Regions from separate parts of the Homo sapiens genome. Here region 2 is linked to region 1. The links are contacts of gene promoters, found by promoter capture Hi-C in human tissues and cell types (Jung and others, 2019). All regions are on one chromosome and are shown on one strand. The core of a region is centred on a gene start or on the middle of the fragment in contact, and the rest is flanking DNA. Distances in the headings are between cores, read along the strand shown.

Region 1 (4,349 bases), core at 1,314-3,813:
TATTAAAATTTAACCATATTATTTTTATAAAATAAATGGCAATAAAATGCTTTATTCTGAATATAAATGATGTACCAATGTCTCTGATTTTAACCAGAATAAACACCCCTGTTTCAAATTCTGATAAGCAGGTAATTTATTTAAGATCACGTTGAAATGACCCTAGAAGTGAAGGGCATTTGAGTTTCCAGCTTTCCCACTTTATCTAAAAGGGGAAAAACGGTGTCTGGCACTCAGCTTTTCGAATGTGCAAAACTGATAAACTAGTCTGTTAGGGGAAAAAAAAAAGACAATGAAGAAATAAAAGTGGAAATTAGCAGAAACCAGTATTAGGCATATGTCTTTATGAATAAGACTTAACCATACACTTGATTTTGCAAGTACAGAAGGCCCTGTGGAATGTATTAATCAGAGTTAAACGCTGTAGACAGGCGCGTTGCAGGGCGGCGGCCCTCTCCCCTTGGCATTACCGACAGCCGAGGAAATTGGGTTAATAAAGCCGGATACTGCGGCGGGGCCGCGGGGCGCAAACCGGCGCGGACAGATGGGTCCCCGGGGGCACCCTGCCCGGCTCCCTGGATCCCGGATGGTGGCAGAGCTGGGAGCTGCGCAGGACGGGCACTGCGCAGCGCATCTCCGTTCACACCCGGCGGGGCACGGGGCCCGCAGCAGCTTACTCACCCGTAGCCCGGCCTCCTCCCTCGGAAGGGAGAGGGGATCGGTGGGGAGGGGGTTTGCTGGACACCAGGGCTAGACGGGGCCCTCCCCTGACCGTCAGGGTTAAGTAGGGCGCGGGCTGTGAGGACCCTCCTCCACGCAGCCCCCCGAGGCAGAGGGCCCGCAAAGCGGTCTCCATCCAACTCCACCCCGCGGACGTCCCAGGCAGCGGATGGCGGCGGGGGGGGGAGGCCAGGGGACATTTAGGGGACAAATTCCTCAGACTTCGAGGCAGCCGGCGACGGCGTCCAATTCCCAAATAAATAGAACAAACTCCTACTTGGAAAAGGCCTTCCCCGGGGTCTTCCTGCGCCCGCGGTCCAGCTCCTCTGCAGACGGCCATCGTGGGCTCTCCGCAGGGCTGCGGAGTCTCGGAGTCACCGAGGTGGGAGGTGCCGGCCACGCGCGTCCTCAGGAACAGAGCACTGCCCTGCAGTTTAGCACGAAGGGCCGGCTGGAGCGGGAGCGCGAGGCCCACTGCAAGAGGATCAGGAGCCAGTAAGTCCGGCTTTTCTTCGTCTCCACCTTTCGTGCGCCCGGGGCCAGGACCGCCTGTCCGGAATCTGACCAGTGCCCGTCCTCGCCGTGGCCCTGGGACCCCGCGGTGGTCTTCTTTTGGGGACGAACGGCAGTGCCCGAAGGATGCTCTACCCACCCCCGTTCCTAGACTTGCTGGGTCCCGACAATACCCAGTGGGTGCCGCGAGTTCCCGGGCGCAGAGTCCAGCGTCCGGCTCTCGAGCTCAATCCCGCGCCCCGACGGCCTTGGCGCTTCCCGCTGCGCTAAACTGTCCACCGCGCACAGGCTGGAAGCGAAGTCGGGCCCCCTCCTCCTGGTCTGCAGGGTCCCTCCAGGCCTTTCCTGTCCGGGCAGAGAGACAGTCACAGGGGCGATCGGAGGACGCGTGCGGGAGGGCCGGGGGCCCGCGCGGTCACGGCTTCTCGTGACAGTGTTTGCAAAGCGCGGAGGGCGTCCCGGAGAAGGCGGCGCACTTGTCAGGGCAGGGCCCCAGGGCGGCGCCTGCGGAGAAGGGGCACACAGTGGCCTGGCCGAAGGGCGTCAAGGGCGCGGCGTTTACGGGCGCGGCCAGGCCCTGGCCCTGGTTGAGGAAGGCCACCAGGCGCCGCATCTCGTCCAGGGCCTGCGCCTGCATGAGGATATAGTTCTTGGCGAGCAGCAGCGTGGCGATCTTGGAGAGCTTGCGCACCGACGGGCTGTGCGCGTAGGGGATGACGGCTCGCAGCCCGTCCAGCGCGTCGTTTAGGTCGTGCATGCGCCGCCGCTCGCGCGCGTTGATGCTGAGCCGCAGAGACCGCTGCTCTCGCGGCCGCCGCCGCCCGTCCGCCGCGCTCCCTGGCCCGCGCCGCCGCCGCCGCTGCTCGAAGGCGTCGTCCTCGTCCCCGCTCTGTTCGCCGCTGCTCTCCGCCGCCTGAGCTGGGGCGCGAGGTGCAGGCGCCGCGGGGAGGTCGCCGCCCGGGCCCGGAGTGCCGTAGCCGCGGGCCGCTTCGGGTTCTCGCGCCGCCCCGTAGGCGAGACCCGCAGCCGCCGCCGCGTAGCCGTGGCTTAGTGCCAGGTACGCGTCCCCCGACAGCGACTTGAGCTCGGCCATGGCCGCGCCGCCTGGGCTCGGGGGCTCGCCGGGTGGGCGGATGCTCATGTGGGTGAGCAGCCCCCGAGGCCGGCCCGAGCCCGCCGCTGCCGCTGCCGCTGCGATGAGGCTCCCGGCTCTGCGCGTCGGTCTGGCTTGCCTGCGGGTCCCAGAGCCTCGGCGCCCGCTGCCTCCTCCGCCTCTTCCTTCTCTCCCACCTCCTCTCCCTCCCAGCCGCGACGCGCAGGGGGCGGGCTCTACCTCCCCCTCGCCCCCGCTTCGGTTTTAAGCCGCGGAGGCGCCCGGTGGGACCTCGCTGCTGTCCAATCAGGGGGGACCGGGTGAGCTCCTCTTCCTGGAGCCGGGCTCCACCAGCGCCGCAGGCTCACAGGCCGGGGGTGGGGGCTCTGGACCGAGGGGCGGCGCGGGGCGGCGCGGGGCGGCGCGCGCGGTCCTGGAGCGCTAGTACTTGCTTCTCGACTCCCCGGCCGCCGCCTCCGGCCGCCCCGGGGATTCCGCCACCAAACGCACGCGTCCCAGGTGGGCACCCGCCTCGGTCCGTCTTTGAGTCTGACCCTAGCGCAAGAGTCCCTGGCGACACGCAGGGGCCAGAGCGGGGGGGCGCGCCGCAATAGCAGCAGCGCCAGCGCCAACACCCTGTCCCGCTGAGGGGCCGCTTCGGGTCGGGGTCAGGGTCGTGGGCGCTCTGGTGCAGCCGCGGCGCAGCGTGTACCCGGAGCCCGCACACTCCCTGCTCGGGGCGCCCTGTGGCCAGGCTTGAGGGGCAGAGTGAGAGGGAGTTTCTAGAACCTGTTGAAAAACGCCACGAGCGTTGCAGGCCGGGGAGGGCGGGAAGGTGGAGGGCAGCGCGGCCTGGGGCTCCCCGGGGGTGGGAGGGGAGCTCTGTGAGCTGCAGGACCGCCTCTTCCCTGCCAGCCGCTTCCTGGGCATCTATCAGCGAAACGCGTGAGGCTTGGTGGGCTTTCCCGGAGCCTCCGAACCCCTGGGGTCCAGCCACACTGGATGGGAATGTGGCCAGCCTCGGACTCGCCTTTTCAGTCCTCTTCCAACCCCGCATGAAGGCCAGAACCCCAGCCCTTCTCCCAGGTGGGAACCTGCCTGGAGGCCCGGCCGAGTGCTGAGGCTAGAGTGTGCTGAGGGATAGTGGCTTCTCCGGTCCTGGCTTGGGTGGGAGACTGGGCCACCCTGGCCTATGGCACGAGGTGGAGCGGCCCGTCGGGCCCTTCTGTGTGACCTGGGAAGGGCCGCATACCCTCCCTGTTCTCCAGGCTCCGCCCCAGGAGGAGCCACAGCGATGGGGCAGTGTGCGCAGCCCCGGGAGGGGAGTGGGAGCTGCACGTGTGTGGGGCGGATGTGCTGTCTGGAAGGTTCTGGGAACGCAGCAGTGACCGGCCTGTCCGGTGGTTCCCTGCCAGGTGCGGGGTGTGAGGAGACAGATGCATGGATAAGTCTCCGTGGGAAACTCAGGCCTTTGTCCTGGCGGAGGGGAATGGGTCTGAGGCAGCCTCTGCCGGGCTGGCGGCCTGTCTGGCTGCGCGTCCTGCAGCACCGGCCTCACCCCCAGCACACGCCCGCCAGGAGCGCAGGGGCCCCGAGGATGGAAGCGTCTGTCTGAGGCGCTGTCCTGGGACCCCACCCCGCCTTCGGGGCTGATGCACAGACCGGGAATTGAGGATACCTGGTGTGGAGGAGGCCGCTGTGTTTGGGCCTGGGTCTGAAGGGTGAGTGGGTGTCATTGTGGCCACGGGCCGGGGTCGGGGGAGCATTCAGGTGGCCGGAGGAGGCCTGGCACAGGGAAGGGCAGTGAGGGGCCCGGGTGGGGCCAGGAGATAGAGGGGCGGGACCAGGCCTGTGGGACAGTTTGAATCACGCGGGGAGTTTGGTCTTTATGGGAAGAAAGGCGCCGTGGCCATTCGGAGAGCCACTCTGGCACTGCTGCCGGTGCGGTCCGGGGCTGCGGGGCCTCCTCCTGGGCCTGAACTGCAGGGCTGGTGGGGGCCATGGGGGAAGGTGGCTCCACAGG
Region 2 (4,298 bases), core at 951-3,450, 150 kb before region 1:
CAAGACTGATATTACTTGCCCTTCACGGGCTAAATACCCTACCAGGAACTCGTGCACAGCTTTCTCCAAGGGGCCCTGATTCAGAAAGGATCACGGCCCAACACTCTGTTAATATTCTGAAACTTGGTCTTTGTAGAGATAAACAATTGGAGTCTTGTTATTAGACTATTTTTTAAACTTTTACATATTACATTCAGTAACATGCAAAGTCCTAAACAAGCAGATACTGAGCAACTTATTCAATATGGCCCTTGTTACTCACCTTCACACCCGTCTATTTAGAACTTTAATTAGAGACTTTGCCAGTAAAACAGCAGCTGGCATTTACTAGGTGCTTTTGGACTTCTAGACATTGAGCGAAACACTCTTTACACATCAGCTCACTGAACTCTAACCACAAGTCTACGCAGTAGAGCTAGAAGTCCAACTTTCAAACTGTCAACGTACGGTGTAAGGCTTTCCACATAGCAGGTACTCAATAAATGTCTATTAAATAAATGTCGGAGCAAAATGCCCTTCATAATTCACAGTAGGGTGAGGAAGGCCCTCAGTTAGTCCATGTGTATAAAAGTATCATAAAAAGATATTAGCTAGCTTTTTAATTTTCTTTCTTTGGGGGATGGGTCTCACTTTGTGGCCCAGGCTGGAGTGCAGTGGCATGATCACAGCTGACTACAGCGCTGACCTCCCAGGCTCAAGTGATCCTCCCACACCTCAGCCTCCCAAGTAGCTGGGGCGACAGGTGTGCAACACCACCACTACTAGTATTGTTGGTTTTTCTTTAGAGACGGGGACTTGCTATGTTGCCCAGGCTGGTTTCAAACTCCTGGGCTCAAGCAATCCTCCCACCTCGGCCCACAGTCATGAGCCACTGCACCCTGCCCCAGCAAGTTTGAATAGATCCCTTTAAAAGAAATTGCCATGCCAGGCGCAGTGGCTCAAGCCTGTAATCCCAGTACTTTGGGAGGCCGAGGCACGTGGATCACCTGAGGTGAGGAGTTCGAGACCAGCCTGACCAACATGGAGAAACCCCTCCTGTACTAAAAATACAAAATTAGCTGGGCGTGGTGACGCATGCCTGTAATCCCAGCTACTCAGGAGGCTGAGGCAGGAGAATCGCTTGAACCTGGGAGGCGAAGGTTGCGTTGAACCGAGATCGTGCCATTGCACTCCAGCCTGGGCAACAAGAGTAAATCTCCATCTCACCAAATAAAAAAATAAATAAATAAATAAATTGCCTTAGCTCAACATTCAACCTTGGAGCTTCAAACCTGAGTATTTGTCTCACTCACTGTTATTTATTTCCTGAACTTAAAGCAGAAACTGGTACACAGTACCAGTACTCGATACATTATGTAGTTAATTAATTATAGATTAGGGAAATATTCTATGAAAACCCAATTATAGGCCGGGTGTGGTGGCTCATGCCTGTAATCCCAGCACTTTAGGAGGCCGAGGCAGGCGGATCACAAGGTCAGGAGTTCGAGACCAACCTGGCCAATATGGTGAAACCTCATCTCTACTAAAAGGTACAAGAATTAGCTGGGCGTAGTGGCGGGTACCTGTAATCCCAGCTACTGGGGAGGCTGAGGCAGAAGACTCGCTTGAACCTGGGAGGCGGAGGTTGCAGTGAGCCGAGATCATGCCACTGCACTATTCCAGCCTGGGTGACAAAGCAAGACTCCGTCTCAAAAAAAAAAAAAAAAAAGAAAAAGAAAAGAAAACCCAATTATAATAGAAAAAAATTAACCACTCTTAATTCTACAAAGAAGGATACCACAAATAAAATCTACAGACAAAACCACTTAAATAACAATTTTAACCTCTTCCTTCCCAGCAATCTTAAAAGAACCAGGCAATAGCCAGGAGCGGTGGCTCACACCTGTAATCCCAGCACTTTGGGAGGCCGAGGCGGGCAGATCACGAGGTCAGGAGATCAAGACCATCCTGGCTAACATGCTGAAACCCCGTCTCTACTAAAAAATACAAAAAAATTAGCCAGGTGTGGTGGCAGGCGCCTGTAGTCCCAGCTACTCAGGAGGCTGAGGCAGGAGAACGGCATGAACCCGGGAGGCGGAGCTTCCAGTGAGCAGAGATCGCGCCACTGCACTCCAGCCTGGGCGACAGAGCAAGACTCCGTCTCAAAAAAAAAAAAAAAAAAAAAGAACCAGGCAAAACTTGCTGAACTCAAGCTGGCTGGTAAGCAGCAGTTACCAAAACAGCCTGACCACTCTCCTCAGAAAGGCCTGCAGTCAGGGCTGGCCCTTAGTGGAGTCTGCAAACCTAGATTCAGGGAGTTAAGAGTGCCCCCAGAACCTACACTGTGCAAACGATATGGCTGACACTGAACAACTGCTTTCCTTCTGGGAGACTGGACTGTGGTTGCATGCATGGGGGCAGTGCCTACGTGACACGCCCCTGGTCTCTAGCGAGCTTTCCTGGTTGGCAACACCTCACCCACGTTTTCAGACCACATGGCTGGGGGCATGAGGGGCAACCTGCCTGACTCCACAGGGCGCGCTCTTAGAAGCTTGCACCTCAGCTCCTGCCTTCTCCCCACGCGCCTTTGCTGATCGCACCTGGCATCCTTTCTCCATAGTAAGTCACAGCCTGAGAGTGACTGCATGCGGAGTCCCGGGAGTCCTCCTAGTGAGCCAGCGAGCCTGGGCATAGTCTGGGGGATCCTTGATCCATCTGGGAAAGCTAACGATGCTCCTACCTGCTTTATTCCCTCTGAACGCAGAAACGGCTAAGGATCACTCATCTGTGATAACCATGTATGACTAAGGTAATCATATATGAGTCAGCCTGACAAGCAGTCACACGTATTACCTTCTATCTCTTTCCATTCGGTTATGCCTCTCCCTACGTTGAGACCTTCCTCCCTGGGGCCCACTCTGGGCCTGCTCCCCCAGGTTTGCCTGTGAGGACTCCGAGGACTGCCAAGCGCCTTGTGTGGCGGTGGCACCTTCGCCCACATTCTGAATCTCTCCAAGGGCTCTTCGCTCTACATTTGTGTCCAACTGACGCATTCTACTCCGATTCCTCTTCAGTGCTTGTTTGCATAGCGCTGCTTCTTTGCGAAAGAAGAAAAAAGTGGTTTTTAATTTTGTATTCTTATCTCAATTAATGCTGAATACAGTTTTGGCCTTTTCAATCCAAGATATAAACATTATTGGGTAAGCAGCACAGAGAACCGAAACACAAAGAGATGTACTAATGCAGTTTTTCAGCATCAGCAGGGACCATGAAGCCCAAGCCTATTTTATACAACGAAACTGAACAAGAATCAATCATCACACTAAATACGTTTTCCAAGTGCTATGCAACCAATATGACCTCATCCAAAGCCCCTCTTTTTAATTAACAGGTGTTATCTATGAATACAGAAAACAAGAAGTTGTTTACTTTTTCTAAAGGTCAGAATGGAAAAAAAAAAACAACAACAACAAACCACCTGGACATATTTCCTCCCAAAAATATTTTCTTTATATACAATTATTCTAAGAACAAGAAAAAAAAACAATTATTCTAATATGACAGTATTTTTACTGCAATGCTCAGAACAAAACTGCAGCAGCGTGTGTGTGTGCCCTCGCCGCAGAAGTGGCTCTCCTCCCCAAAGCAGGAAGAAGTAGCGTCCGAGCTTTTCTGCTGCGTGACAGGCTATGCCACGTGTGCGTCAGTGGAACTGTATCCATCAAAGGACCACAGGCACGTGACTGGCAGGCGTGCTCATGTGCACGCGTATGCCACACAAAGCACCCATTTCAGAAGGATGATGAAGCTTTCAGCAGGAGAGAGAGGAATTCGGTCGTTTTGGTGATATTTTATTCCTTAACCTGAGTAGTCGGCACAGAGGCTGCTTTAATACTCATCTTTGTATCTTACAAATGTGAACATATACTTTGGCATAAAATTTTATAGGGAGGAAAAGGAAGGACTGACATGGGAGAAGGCGGTAGCTCTTCCTCCCCATCTTGTCTTCACCAACTCTTGGAAAGCTAAGTGTAAGGAGTGTTCTTTTTTCGGGTCACTTCACAAATCAGTTTCCCAGGGAGGAAGGGGCTACGCAGGTGTTTCCCAGGGAGGAAGGGGCTATGCAGGTGTTTCCCAGGGAGGAAGGGGCTACGCAGGTGTTTCCCAGGGAGGAAGGGGCTACGCAGGTGTTTCCCAGGGAGGAAGGGGCTACGCAGGTGTTTCCCAGGGAGGAAGGGGCTACGCAGGTGTTTCCCAGGGAGGAAGGGGCTACGCAGGTGTTTCCCAGGGAGGAAGGGGCTACGCAGGTGTTTCCCAGG

Evidence for each region. Contacts are between HindIII fragments. The study calls those that stand out against the background at their distance.
Region 2: a fragment that was not itself captured here is called in contact with the fragment with the promoter of BHLHE23 in region 1 in 1 of the 25 tissues and cell types used here (pancreas).

Annotation. Positions count from the first base shown.
Region 1 is chr20:63,004,401-63,008,749 of GRCh38, forward strand. BHLHE23 (basic helix-loop-helix family member e23) reads right to left here and starts at 2,564. Exons shown (of 1, transcript NM_080606.4): 1 at 1,527-2,564. The coding sequence starts at 2,374. The coding sequence ends at 1,649. RefSeq lists enhancers at 2,283-2,988, 2,989-3,696. The HindIII fragment of the contact is 18,098 bases long and covers 1-4,349 here.
Region 2 is chr20:62,854,563-62,858,860 of GRCh38, forward strand. TCFL5 (transcription factor like 5) reads right to left here. Exons shown (of 6, transcript NM_006602.4): 4 at 2,833-3,076. Among named protein-coding and RNA genes, the nearest start is that of TCFL5, 5.1 kb to the right of the region's middle. The HindIII fragment of the contact is 4,926 bases long and covers 1-4,298 here.